Regions from separate parts of the Homo sapiens genome. Here region 1 is linked to region 2. The links are contacts of gene promoters, found by promoter capture Hi-C in blood cells and fetal thymus (Javierre and others, 2016). All regions are on one chromosome and are shown on one strand. The core of a region is centred on a gene start or on the middle of the fragment in contact, and the rest is flanking DNA. Distances in the headings are between cores, read along the strand shown.

Evidence for each region. The method cuts DNA at HindIII sites, captures the fragments that hold promoters and counts their contacts. A CHiCAGO score of 5 or more calls a contact.
Region 1: the fragment with the promoter of UPP1 here is called in contact with the fragment with the promoter of C7orf25 in region 2 in 2 of 17 cell types (non-activated CD4 T cells and activated CD4 T cells); the score reaches 10.5 in non-activated CD4 T cells.

Annotation. Positions count from the first base shown.
Region 1 is chr7:48,087,614-48,095,097 of GRCh38, forward strand. UPP1 (uridine phosphorylase 1) reads left to right here and starts at 1,652. Exons shown (of 9, transcript NM_003364.4): 1 at 1,652-1,805; 2 at 2,575-2,751; 3 at 7,150-7,214. The coding sequence starts at 7,171. RefSeq lists enhancers at 655-1,184, 997-1,206, 1,717-2,246 and silencers at 1,347-1,686, 2,027-2,216. The HindIII fragment of the contact is 3,480 bases long and covers 1-3,131 here.
Region 2 is chr7:42,906,972-42,913,771 of GRCh38, forward strand. C7orf25 (chromosome 7 open reading frame 25) reads right to left here and starts at 5,099. Exons shown (of 2, transcript NM_001099858.2): 1 at 4,944-5,099; 2 at 2,302-3,950. The coding sequence starts at 3,929. The coding sequence ends at 2,664. RefSeq lists enhancers at 3,928-4,625, 4,626-5,322 and a silencer at 4,671-4,930. The HindIII fragment of the contact is 2,903 bases long and covers 2,476-5,378 here.

The DNA.
Region 1 (7,484 bases), core at 402-2,901, 5.2 Mb after region 2:
AAACTCCCCAAAATTCTGGAATGGGGCCTTTGAGCCCCTACGCTCAGGCCCGCTCCCACACTGTGGAGTGTACTTTCATTTACCTTTTTTTTTTGAGATGGCGTCTCACTGTGTCACCAAGGCTGGAATGCAGTGGCATGATCTCAGCTCACTGCAACCTCTGCCACCCAGGTTCAAGTGGTTCTCCTGCCTCAGCCTCCCAAGTAGCTGGAATTACAGGCACCTGCCACTGTGACCGGCTAGGTTTTTTTTTTTGTTTTTTTTTTTTTTTTACTTTTAGTAGAGACGGGGTTTCACCATCTTGGTTAGGCTGGTCTTGAACTCCTGACTTTGTAATCCACCCGCCTCGGCCTCCCAAAGTGCTGGGATTACAGGTGTGAGCCACTGCGCCTGGCCGTACTTTCATTTTCAATAAAACCCTTAATTCCTTCCTTGATTTGTTTGTGTGTTTCACTCTTGTCACCCAGTATGGAGTGCAATGGCGCGATCTCGGCTCACTGCATCCTTCGCTGGGTTCAAGCAATTCTCCTGCCTCGGCCTGCCTAGTACCTGGGATTACAGGCACGCGACACCACGTCCAGCTAATTTTTTGTATTTTTAGTAGTGACGGGGTTTCACCATGTTGGGCAGGCTGGTCTCGAACTCCTGACCTCAGGTGATCCATCCGCCTCGGCCTTCCAAAGTGCTGGGATTACAGGCGTGAGCCACCACTCCCGGCCCAACCCCATGTTTTCTCAGGAACTGGAGTTCCCTTTAGGAAGCAAGTAACAGAGGTGCTGGGCTGCCCGGGCCTCTAGGTCGTCTTCTTTCCCAGGCTCTGTGCTCTCACCAGAGTGCGCGTTCGGGAAGCAGGGAGAGGACCAGGAAAGACGCCTGAGACGGAGAGTGGGCACCGGCCGGGGGCAGGCAGGTCCGGCCCCTGGGGGTCAGAGTGCAGCGCCGGTTTGAGGCAGTTCGGCCACTTAGCTGCGACTCGAAGTGAATGAGTCACTTCCCCTCCTCGGGCGAGCTCCTGGCTTTGCCCCAGCAAGCGGGAACTCCCAGGATCAGGAAGGTCCCAGAGAAACTCCCCAGGGGGGAAGCCGAGGCCGTCCAGAGAGATCCAGGGTACACACAGTGACAGTGCCAGCTCCACATTCCCGACCACCGGGCCAGGGCTGGTTCCACGCTGTCATTTCTCTCCGCTGGCCCCAGCCGCGGGGCCACCGCCAGACAGACAGACCGGGGATCCTGCCTGGCGGCGTGACCTTGGGTTAGTCCTAGAGCCGCTTCTAGCCCGGTTTCCTCCGCCCCAGGTTAGGACCACGTGGGTAAGAAGATTTCCTCTGTAGTAGGGGCTGTTTAATGAGTAACAGAACTGGCTGCTGGTTCTTTACAATTGCCCAGCTGCTCTGCAGAGGCGAGAAGCAATTGCGGGCTGAGCCTCCCGGGACCTTCGCGGGAGGGTGGAGAGGAGGAAGGCGGGGGAGGCGGGGCCAGAGGGGCAGAGGAAGGTGGGGGCGGGCGGGGCTTGTCTGCGGGATGGCCCAGGATGCGGTCAGCTGAGTTCGCCGGCCCAGGGCAGGCGGGGCCCGAGCCTAGCGGTAACCCCCGGGCAGGGCGGGGCCGCTCGCAGACTCCATATGAGATTCACCTCGCAGGTGGTTCCCTCATTCGAGTGCTCCGGCGCACAGACCCGCGCCCCGCCGTCTGCGAGCCTCCCGAGAGCCGTCCCTTCGTCCGGCCCTGGAGCATTGCGTTTGTCGCCGGTGTCGCAGTGCGAGGATGGCGCCGCGGGTGTAGCGGCTCTCTGCGCAGGCCGAGTGGTGAGTCGCCCGCGGCCCGGCTCCCGCCGTTCTCTCTTCCCAGGGGTCTAGCCCGTCCCCTGCCTTGGCCACGTGCCCATTTACCTGTAGGGGCGGTGACGGAGGCTCTGGTGCACCTTGGCTGTGAGCTGCAGAGGAGCAGAGAGCGGCCCGGCGCGGCTGCGCGGGGAGGCGGGCGCGCGGCCGGGAGGTTCTGGGGCTGGTGTGTGCGGAGCGAGGTGGGCGTGGGGGAAGCGCGCGGGCGGGATGTGCTTCCTCGGGTCCACCCCGTGCCTACCTCTCCCACGTCCCGGCGACGGAGCGCGCGGGGCTCTGGGCGGGGAGCCCACCGGGCCGAGGCGCAGCGAGGGTGAAGCCAGAGCCGGCAGGGTCAGGTCCCGCAGGGCGCAGGCGGGCGCTTCTCGCAGCCCAAACCCGGGCGGGGAGTGCGGGAACCCCTAGAACTATGCTGGGAGCCCCAGATAAGAGGAAGGAGATGGTGACTTAAGTGACGAAGTGATGTTTTGTCCCCACCGCCTTTTAAAGGGAGAAGGGGGTAAAATTTCATTTGGAGGATGATTGTTACGCGAGCTTTCAGAGTTCAGATGGCGTCAAGTGGCCATCGAGTCAACATTTAACAAAATGTTACCGCATAAAATATTGTCATCGAGTTATCTGGCAGCTCCGCAGAGAAACTTCACAGGCATATGCGTTATATGACATAATTTGCATGGGGAAGGGGGTCCCTTCACGATTCTTTTATATGGCAACCTGTTCTTGGACCTGGCAGGGCCCAGAGAAGCGAGGAACTCCGCAGCTCGTCGACACGTCTCGTCTCCTGTCCCAATTCAGGGCTTGGTGAGGTGACTCGCGGTCGCGGGTGACTCGCCGGCAGGACACTGCCTGGAACGCCTGGAGCGCCTCCCACTGCAGACGTCTGTCCGCCTCCAGCCGCTCTCCTCTGACGGTCAGTTTCAAAGAAACACAGTCTGGGATCCGGAGTAGAAAGAGGCCGTTTCCCGTGAAGGCCATAGAGGCAGTTTCCAGGCGCCTGGGTGACCTGTCTCTGCACTTCCCTCTCTGCTTCTCCATCCCTGTTTCCTTTCCCCACTGTCCCCTGCCTGGCCTTTCTTTGGCTCATTTTCTGCCTTCCTGGGGTCTTCTGGTTAAAAAGACCATTGGTTCCATTCATTGGCTGTAACCGCGGGTCTTTAAAAAACTTTGTGACTTCCTTGAATAGAAAGAATGTCTTACTCTGGATTTCTACAAGCGCTGCTGAGCCATTCCCAGGGCAGGCCTTTGTCTCTCCCGCCTTTCAGTTTGTTTGCCCATCTGCATTTTGGCCCAAGCTTTCCCCATTTCTCAGCTGCTCTTACATTATTTCTTTTTTCAGAGGCTACCCTGACCTTCTAGTCCTCTGCATTAAACCTCATCACCGCAGACCGTTTTAATTCAGCACAGGTGTATCGAGCACAAATTATATTCTTGGTTCCAATACTTTCAGCACTGGTGGGCATTCATGTTTCATTTAAGAAGGATAAATTAGTGTTTCTTTACATGGGCTTTTTGTCAAAGTGGAATTTTGTTGACTTTACTGATCTTAAAATTAACGCAAACTTATTGTAAAAACAAACAAACAAAAAAACCCAAAAACCAAAAATCAAATATATAACAGAAAATGAAACTTCTAGGTTTTCCTCTTCCCTAAAGATAAACAACAAACATTCTTCTTCCTTCTCCTCTCTCTCTCACACACATTTGCTTTTGAAATATGTTCATTCAAAAAAGTATTTTAAATGTTTACAAGCTAAGTTATTTATGCAAGTAACTTACCAATCTGATTTGAGTTTAACGGGTTAAAACTAAAAAAAAAAATCAAAAACATCTTCAGTTTTTTTTTTTTTTTAAGTAAGATGGATCTGGCTGGTAATAGGTAGAGAGCCCCAGGTGATCACCGAAAAGACTCTTCCTTGGGGAGCCAAATCCTAAGCCAGGTTTAGGATTTCCCTGGGAGGTAGAATTTGCAGCCCAGGTAAAACCAGCAAAACTCTCCTGTTATGTGGGGAGGGGAGCGAAGAGCATGGCTTTCTAGAGAGGTGAGAGAAGACTTGTTGAGAAACTGAATTTCATTTCCTTACGGAAGTTGGAGAACATTGTGGTACAATGTTAGGAGAAAGGTTTTCTAAAATCAGTGCAGTCTGACATCTTCAACACCAGGGTCTTTTCCACTGGAGCACTGCAGACATCTGCAACTTTCTCTGCCTACGTGGGTGTGGTTAAATAGACCCTCCCTGAGTGCAGGGCTGAAAAGTGGAGAGAAGTTAGTTCTTGGGACACTCACACCCAGGAGGGGGGATCCTGCAGGTACTAAGATTGCAAAGGGAAAGAGAGAGTGAGGCTGGTCCTGGAGCCCACTAGGAAGGAGCCAGCGGAAAGCAGTGACTGGACAAGGGAACTGATTTCTCTGCTGATGTGGCCTTGGTTTCTCTGGTTCAGAGTAAAGAAAAGCAACCAAACCTAGAGAGAAACATCCTTACTCTACAAGGCCAGACGGGAAGTTCTGTCTTTGGCTTGGTTTCCTTTTCTACAAACGGGGTTGGATTCTCTCTGGAGAGCTTTCCGGGGGCCACTCAGCAGTCTCTGATTCAGTGGGATGTTCTCAGCTGCTGGCCCAAGGGAGCTCACCTCTTAGCTCTTCCCCTGCCTGGTTCACTGGGGGGCTGCTCCCTCCCATTAGCTCCCTACCCCTAAAGACAAAAATAGCAGCCTGGAGGGGGCAGAGTTTTAGGGGAGGTTGTAAGAGGGCACATTCTTCAGAGGAGCCACTCTTACGGGGGAATGTTCCTGCCCCACAGAAACTGGCCCTGGGGATCAGGACTCTGCCTGACCCTAAACCCTACTTCTTCCCTCAGTCGGTAGGTCTGCTTAATGGATCCTGAAGAAGGCCTGAAATCATGACCAGACCCCTACGCCCCGGGATCCTCCTGTAGTGCCTTTTGATAAGAAGCACTGCCCTGGCTTCTCTCTCCTCCTTCCACATGTGTAGGGAGAGGTAGCTCTGCCTATTCATGAAGCTTCATCCCTACACTGTCCTTCATTTGGCCCCTGGTGAACCGGGGGCCAAGGTGTGATACCTCTTTTAAAACTCATTCCCTTCACACTGGTGTTGTGACTCATGCCTGTAATTCCAGCTACTTGGAGGCTGAGGTGGGAGGATCACGTGAGCCCAGTAATTTGAGGCGGCAGTGAGCTGTGATTGCACCACTCCACTCCAGCCTGGGTAACAGAGTGAGACCCTGTTTGTTTCTTTTTTTTTTTTTTTTGAGACAGAGTCTTGCTCTTTCACCCAGGCTGGAGTGCAGTGGCATGATCTCGACTCACTACAACCTTCATCTCCTGGGTTCCAGCGATTCTCCTGCCTCAGCCTCCCGAGTAGCTGGGATTCCAGGCATGCGCCACCACACCCAGCTACTTTTTTGCATTTTTAGTAGAGATGGAGTTTCACCATGTTGGCCAGGCTGGTCTTGAACTCCTGACCTCAAGTGATCTGGCCTCCTCGGCCTCCCAAAGTGCTGAGATTAGGGGCGTGGGCCACTGTGCATGGCCCCCTGTTTCTAAAAAAATGAAGAATAAAGTGTTGAATTAAAAAAAAAATCAACAACACCACACCTTATTCCCCTTCTTAGCTCTCCTTAGCTGGACTGCAGTAGGCTGGGATTTCCAAAGAAGTGTTGTGTAAATGCTAAGGGAGAATGAAAGCCTGGTGGAGAGATTTAAGGCAGCAATTGGAGGGAACATTTTTCTCCACACCTAACAACTGTAGTTTTCCCTGGCATTCAAAATTTGCTGGAAATGATCACTATATTATGGTAATAATAAATCCCATTCTCCAAAAAGGGACCTTTTGGGTTTTAGCTTGGTGACAAGAGACTGCTGAGTTACGAAGGTGAGAACCGTGTGGTGGAAACAACTGGCTTGACCTCAGGAAAGCAGCTTCACTTCACAGACTCCTACTGATGTCTTTATGAGCCTTGGATCATCCTGTAGACCCAGTGCTTCACTCTCTTCCTCTCAGCATGAATCCTGCCCACTCTGCAAGGCTTTCCAGGGAGTTGGGGGCCTGGCCATTACAGGGCATTTGGGGATTTGTTTCTTTATTAACTGAGTTCAAAACGTGAGTCTCACCCTCCTTCAAAGAGCTCTGGCAAAACCCTGCCCTTCTCCACACAGAGAAGTGGTCTTGGGGGTTTCTGACTACTGAGCCCTAGTAGAATAACTTCAGGTACGCCACGTTTTTCCTTCATGGGACTTTGCAGTGGAGACGGGGCCGTGGGCTGACTCAGGTCAGCCTCAGTCCCTCTCCCTCCTATGGTGGTCCCCTGTCCCCGCTGCTCCCCCTGGAGCTGATAACTTTTACCCATCTTTGACCCAATTCTTCCTGGGGAGAAGAGCATCTGAGATTCTAGAAAAGTGAGGCAGAGGCCAGGCGCAGTGGCTCACACCTGTAATCCCAGCACTTTGGGAGGCCGAGGCTGGTGGATCACCTGGGGTCAGCAGTTCGAGAACAGCCTGCCCAACATGGTGAAACCCTGTCTCTACTAAAAATACAAAAATTAGCTGAACATGGTGGCGTGTGTCTGTAGTCTCAGCTACTCGGGAGGCTGAGGCAGAAGAATTGCCTGAACCTGGGAGGCGGAGGTTGCAGTGAGCCGAGATGGCACCACTGCACTCCAGCCTGGGTGACAGAGCGAGACTGTCTCTATTAAAAAAAGGGAGGCAGAGAGGTGTGGTGTGTTGGGTCAGTGAGTCTTGACTTGCTGAGCTGGGAAATTGGGAATAAGGGACAGGTTTTTGTTTTGTTTTGTTTTGTTTTTTGAGACGGAGTGTCGCTCTGCAACCTCTGCCTCCCAGGTTCAAGCGATTGTCCTCCCTCAGCCTCCTGAGAGTAGCTGGGATTACAGGCGCCTGCCACCACACCTGGCTAATTTTTGTATTTTTAGTAGAGATGGTGTTTCACTGTATTGGACAGGCTTGTCTTGAACTCATGATCTCCACCCACCTTGGCCTCCCAAAGTGCTGGGTTTACAGGCATAAAGGGGACAGGTTCTCTGGAGGTGTGAGGTGCCTGTCCACTTAGGCTTTTGGCACATTTTCAGCACCTCCTCTCTGAAACTAGCAATGCTATAAACACACATACACACTCTCCTCTCTCTCTGTTTCTATTTCTCACACAATTCACACACTTACATCAGGTGTGTAAGGAATTCCACTTCATTGCACTGACTTTCTACATATTAGTGGGGCTCTGCACGATCTTGGTTTCTACTGAGTGGATTCACTCCATTCTGTGATTTTTTTTCCTTAGGGTCCTGCCTCAGTTGGCGGAATGGCGGCCACGGGAGCCAATGCAGAGAAAGCTGAAAGTCACAAGTAAGGCTCCATTTCATTCCAGGTTGGGTTGGGTGGGGTTGGGTTGTTTATAGAGCATATGTTGTGCCACACATTTTTCTAAGGACTTGACATATATTAACACATTTGATGCTTGTGAAAGAGACTGAGGCCTGGAGGGATTAATGACTCAGGAGGTTCGTACATTAGATGGTTAAAGACCTCCGGGGTCGGGTGCTGGGGCCTCAGCTCTTGATTCTTAGGACATGTTGTTTCAGAAAACCAGACAAGTCCCTGCTCAAATCTCTGTCT
Region 2 (6,800 bases), core at 3,849-6,348:
CATTGTTTTTATTGTCTCTTTTTTTTTTTGAGATGTAGCCTCGCTCTTGTTACCCAGGCTGAAGTGCAATGACGTGATCTCGGCTCACTGCAACCTCCACCTCCCAGGTTCAAGTGATTCTCCTGCCTCGGCCTCCTGAGTAGCTGGGGTTACAGATACCCACCAACATGCCTGGCTAATTTTTGTATTTTTAGTACAGACAGGGTTTCACCATGCCAGCCAGGCTGGTATTGAACTCCTGACCTCAGGTGATCTGCCCCTCAGCCTCCCAAAGTTTTGGGATTACAGGTGTGAACCACCACATCCGGCCTTTATTGTCTAATATTTTACCTTTATGAAAGGAATGTTTTGGCCAGCTGGAATAGACCTTGACAGTGTAGATCATGTGTGTGGTCTCTAGGGAAGGTGCTATTTCTTACATTCCAGGATCCAGTGCCCTACTACTTGAGCATATGTACTGCTTGCATTATTTATTACATTGTTAGGAGTTGCAATCACTGGAATGCTTGAAAAAACATCATGGTCTTTGGCAGGGCACAGCTGTGGTCACTTCACAAAGCAGTTTCCTAAAGAGTGCTGTGGCCTGTCCACTTTCTAGTTGGCAAAGATCCCAAGTTCTTAGGTATTGATTGATTCATAGGGAGCAGGGATAGAAATCTACCTTCTTTCTGCTCCTTTAAAACAAGTCTTTTATATGCCATGCCCTTTGTACTGTGTCTGACACATGGCTGTCACTCAATGCTTATTAAACGAATGAGTACATTAATATGTCAATTCTGCCTCAAACAAATCCAACATGTATCCATGACTCTACAGTCCATCATTCCTGCTCTAGCTAAGGTCATTATAGTCCAAACTTTCTTTCAATTTTTATCCACACTACAGATTTTTGTGGTTTCCTTAAGAGACCTGATCATAAGCCACACTTTCTTAAAAATCACCAATGGCTCTCTAATGCCAAACTCTTTAGAGAACTTTGACTTTTTTTTCTAGCTCCATCTTGTTTTATAAACTGTCCACTTGAGCCTGGTCCCTGAACAGGTCCTCATAGTCACAGTTCTGGTACTTTTCCAATCCCATTCCTCCATGTACTTTTGAGTACCCTTTCTCACACATCTTGTGAAATTTCACACCCCAAACCCTCAAACAACACTTCCTCTCTGACTTCCTGGCCCCATAACAAGTACTCCTTTACTCTGTCCCCATAGTATTTTCAACATATCCTAGAGAATTTAGTACATTTAATTGCACTTCAGTTGTTTACTTCCACTTTAGACTTAAGAATTCCTTAGAGCAAACATTCATCTTTTCACACCAAACTATTATAATGCTTGGTACTTAATAGTATCAAGTACTACATGACCTTAATAGATGCTCAAAAAGCTTAAATTCCATTTCTAACACTAGACATATACCACTCTACACTAAACTGGAAGCAAATCACAGCCTTTCTACTAGAAAATGTATTCTGACTTAGTAAAGCAATCTCTCCCCAGAGAACCACCCCCATACACTTAATTTTGCATTCATTTCAGGGTGTTCATGAATGCCAATAACCAAATTCCACCCCAACAAACACTGTGGCTGTAAATTGAGATTCTCTTCTCAACAAATACGACATTTGGCATGGTAGAAAGAGATCAGACTGTGGCTAGAAACATCAAGTTTTAATACCAGCTCCTACACTTAGCATGAGTTAATATTTAAGCTCCAGGACTCAAATTCCAAATTTTTAAATGTGGTGAATACATACCGACTTTGCTAGTTTTGCTTTATTGAAAACTGATAAAGTATCTAGCGCAATGTAGCCATAGAAGTGTATTTTTAACTACAACTTGTGTCATGGAATTGGCATGGAATATTCTGTCACCATCTCATGAAAGTAAGGTAATGCAGTTGTCACTTGCCACTTGCAAATGAAACATGAAAATAGTATTTATTGTTCAAATACTTATAATATGGGGGCTTTCTGTATTGAATTTTTAAAATCTTTTACATAATCCTTTTTCAATTCATTCAAATTAGTATTTTACCTTAAGTGTCCTGGTTTTATCTTATAGTAGTAAGATTGTTGGCTTTCTTTTCACAAAGGTCTACCAATGGGTTCATGGCACTCAAATAACCATAATTCACTTTCTCATTTCTTCTGTATTATGTACTTTTTGTAAAAACACCTATCAGACTGCACCTGACATACAGCAAATAAGTTTTTCATTAATGGTTAACCTTAGAATCTAAAATTGATTACCAACGACTACCTCCCAGCCTAAACCATATAAAGCAATACAATGAAAAACAGGCTTGAATTTTCTCCAGATATTTAATGCAAGATGCAATGTAGCCATATTCCATGAAATGTGGTTAGCAGTAGGGGAGTTGTAGCCCTATCGAATCAAAGTATTACAATACAGCTGAAAGCTTTATATAGACGTATTTCGGTTCTTAATTGCACTAATGCAGACAGTTTGATAGATAAGCTTCTCTCTTGTGCTTTTTCTACTTTGGGAGGTTATATACTTTAGATGAGAGACAAAGAAACTCTACTGGTTTAAGAGTTCTCAGTTTTACTTTTACTATAGACCTTTTTTCCCACCAGTTTAGATGGGAAGACCCAGCCTTTGGTATAAATAACTTACTTCCACAAAAATATTTAAAGGGTATCTTTAGTGTTCACTGTCAGTTGTGTAGTCTTTTGGTAAGGGGGTGGCTAGAGCCTCTTTACTCTCAGTAAGTGCTCTGGGCTGATGGATAAACACACTAAATTTAACACCCTGGTTGTTTGCAGCTCTGACAAAACCACTATTAGCAGTCATTGTGATGGCTTTTAGGGTGTCTCCCGTCCCAAAAATTGTTAATGAGCGGCTATTAATTTTTGAACTGGCCACTAGTCTCAAGGCACGCTCAGAAGGCTGGTCTGGTACCACATTAATTCGCTTAATTAACACAGTGGCCCTCTCTCTCTCCCCAGGTCCTCCTAAGGTATCTAAAATAGACTGAAAGTCCTTGACAGCAGATTCACAAGCAAACAACTCCTTGTCCTTCATAAAGGCCTCCAGCTGAGGTAGAACCTGCTCTTTCCTCTCTTGCTCTGCTTGTTCTGTGAGCACTTTCTCTTTGAAAATAAAGTGGCAGCCTCCATAGCTGAGGGCAGATACATATGTGATTAAAGTAGTAATGTCCAGATTTACTCTTTTGCACACATCGACCTTAATTTCTGTTGGAAACGCAACACTTGCTAGTATATTTTCTCGGTCAACTCTGGTCACCTGCAAAAGTTCAGGGCCCTCATCATCTGATTCACTCTCACTTGGTTGAAGCTCTTCAGGGTGATCTAACAGAGCGTTGACTGCTACTATGTCTCCTCTCACAGATATGCCCATTTCTTTCAGCTTCTCTGCCATGGGGCTGGAGACACTGTTGTAAAATGCAAAGATGATGTGAGGGTTGCTATACTGCACTGGCTGCTGGTGACTGGCCTGGAGGAAGTCTTCAGCCTGCTCAATGATGCTTTTGTCACCATATTGGCCCCTGCCCAGCCAGATGTTATGAAGAGCTTCAGCCTTCCGGCCAATGGCTTTCACCCAAGTATGACCACCATTTGCAACTACATCTACCACAAGGGTTTGCTTTTCTCCTAAGGTATCTGTATAACCAAAGACATGAAGAACACTAACAACTTCTTCCAGGTTTTCTGCTGATTCCACAATGGCTCTCAGGTGTGTTAGGTTAGTGCTCTGTAAATGAGACTCTTTAATAGCTACTTTCCCAGCTTCTACTTTCTGCAAGAATTTTAATTCTGCCTTCAATTTGCTGCACAGCTTTGCACCACCTTCTATGCCACCTTTTCTTGATCTAGAAAGTGATTCTGCTCTCTTGATCAGTTCCTTGGCTATGGCGATTCGTTCACAGAGCATGGAATGTGCAGACATGCTGTCAGCATTATTCCTTTCCTAGGGAAAGAAACAAGGCAAACTTCAGTAGTCTCCTAAAATTATGACAATCAATTCTTCACTGGTGATTAAAAACTTCAATCTAGCAACACAGCTTATGGAGGGTGAGTCTATGAACCCGGGCTTGTGTATGTCTCATTCTGGAGTGACTGCTTCCTCTGATAGCTAAGGAAAGGATGGCAGCTACACTTTTGAACTCTTCTTTAGGTACGTCTGACACACTTTAGACCTTCATTTCTTCAGCTTGAAAGCCATGGGGACACAGCATGGTCCTAGGTTAGGATACAATGCAAGAGTTGGGCAATCTGCTATATAAATAATTCCCTTATGTCTATCAGCGGCCTGTTTAACTGCTGAGAAATTTTAATAAAGGCGACAAAAATGCCGAAAACAAAAATACACACAGACTGGCTAGTTAGCAAACTGTCCAAAGCAAGTGTCTGTCCTAAACTGAGCACTTCAGCCTCCCTAACCTTTTCCTCCTTCCCGAGTTGGTCTCCTTCAACCGGCTGCCTCATGATTTCCCCCGAGGCTTGGGGTACTTACGCCAAAAAAAATCAACACTGCCTCATTTCTGCATTTGACGTCAACCCAGACTATTTTAAAAGACCGAAGAAGACCACCAACTTGCGTCCCACTCCCACTCCGACTCTGAAGGAAAATCCGAAGATGAAACTAAACTCCAAGGCTGCAACCCGCGGCGGCCGTGCAAGCGGCCCCAGCGCAGGTCGCCGGGTGGGCGGGCCAGAGGCCGGCGGGGCCTTCTCGGTGGGCTGCGGGGCCCTCGGCCCTGCCCGGCCACCTGCACAGCCGGGCCCTGCCAGGAGGGGCCGGGGCCGAAAAGCCCCCACCGCCAGCGCCGCGGCTCAGGGACCAGGCGCTGATAGCGCGCGGCCGACCCCCTTCCCGCCGGGCCGGCCCTGCCCAGCCCCCTCTGGCCTCAGAAGAGGCGCCCCGCTCCCAGCCTCCCCGCCTCGCTCCCCGGCTCCTCACCGGCAGCGCCAGAACCGCGAGCGCGAGCACGCAGGCGCGTGCACGCAGAGGCCGGGACCCGCCGGGAAATCTCAACCGGGCAGCCCCCACCCCGCTCGAACGCCGAGGCGGCTCCACCCGCGCGAGCCCCGCCGCCTCGGGCACCTCCTGCATCACGTGGTTCCGGGCCGGGTGACGCCAAACCTGCGATTCCCAAGCGGCAGCGCGGCCTCCCGAGCCGGGTTGACGCTGGCGTGGCGGCCATGTTTATTGAGGGCACCTGGCTTCTCCCGCTTGCGCCGCCGGGTGAGCCTGAAGGCGCGCACCCACCTGGCTCCAGGAAGAGGGACCGAGCTCGCGTGCTGGGCCTCACTCCCACTGGGGGCGTCGGCCACTCGATCGCAACCGGGTCGTAGGCATTTTGGGGGCTCATTTTAACAGAAGAAACGCTGGAGAAGCTTGTCAGAGGTGACAGCTGAGAAGTACTGCCTCTGGGACTTCTGCCTCCAAGCCAAAGCACTTTCCACTGCATTGTCCTGGGCCCTCCAAAGAAAGTGTGCTGTCCTTCTGAAGAGAAGAAATGATTGCATGGCTTCCGAGGGGCTGCCATATTCATATTACTGTAGTAGAGTGTCCAGAGTCACCCAGAAAGATTAGGGCTGTAAGAAAGTAAAGCTAATTTAAAATATTAAAGAGGACTTCCAGTTATAATTAATCCTGTGTATCCTGCTCCTTCTCCAAACTTAACAGTAAAGCAATGCTCCTTCTCCAAATAACAGTAAAGCAATGACAAAGGGAACAAACAAAGGCAAAAAGAACAAGAGAAGAGATGACTGCAGACCGGTTATACCAACACATTTTTGGAGGACAAGAGCAATAACTTATTCAGTCCTTACAGCGTGACAGACATTGTTCTAAGTGTTTTACACATTGTTCACTCCTTTAAACAACCTAAAAGGTAGAGATATTAAGTATGCTTTACAGATAAGTGAGCCATAGGGAGGTTACCTGAACCCAAGCACCCTCTTTGCAGATGGTGTCAGGAGAACTGAGCAAACTGCTTGTAGAAGGGGATATTTAGCCACTGATTCACAAAGCAGAACCCCAGAAAGCTTCAGGTGCCTTGAAGGTAGAAGGGAGGGCAGTAAATTGTTCAGGCAGAAGACTAGTTTAAGATGCTAAAGACAGGGCATCAGAGGGATTCCAGACACAAAGCCTAACAAAGGATGAGAGGTGCCATGATGTTTTCCTACTGAATAGTGCAATGCTAGCAGCCCCCTTCTCTGCCCCTCCCATAATGCAGGCACCCCTCTACCGCTCCCTACCACTATCTCCCCATAACCCTATTTTTCTCTGAAGAAATGAGTAGACAAAAGACCCTAGAGAAATGGCTCGGCAATACCAACATTCAGCATCCCCTAGTGTGAGCCTCACGAACACAGCATTTCCCAACGTTTTTGTTATTTGAAGGAAATGGAAAACAGAACAAAATGGTCTCAAAAAGTATTCTATAACTAGCATCTTCAAATAAAAGATATTTCAGCTATGAAACAAGAGGATTTCTTTTTTTAAGGAGACAGCAGAGCACAGGAAATGGTTCTTCTGTAGTAAAAATCATATCCCAAATTTCAAAACATCAATGAGTTGGAAAAATTTAGAAAGTAGAAATAGATGAAAAATGGAGCAAAAACAAAAGGATCCAGTATCCAATTAACAGGAGTTTAGAAACAAAAACAAAATGAAGAGAAAATTTTTCAAAAACTTAATAGAAAATTTAGCAAACAGAAACGTTTTTCACAGTGCAAGGGCCCACTGAGTGCTCACCACAATGACTATTAAGAAACCCACACAAAGGAACATGGTTGTGAAGTTTCAGAA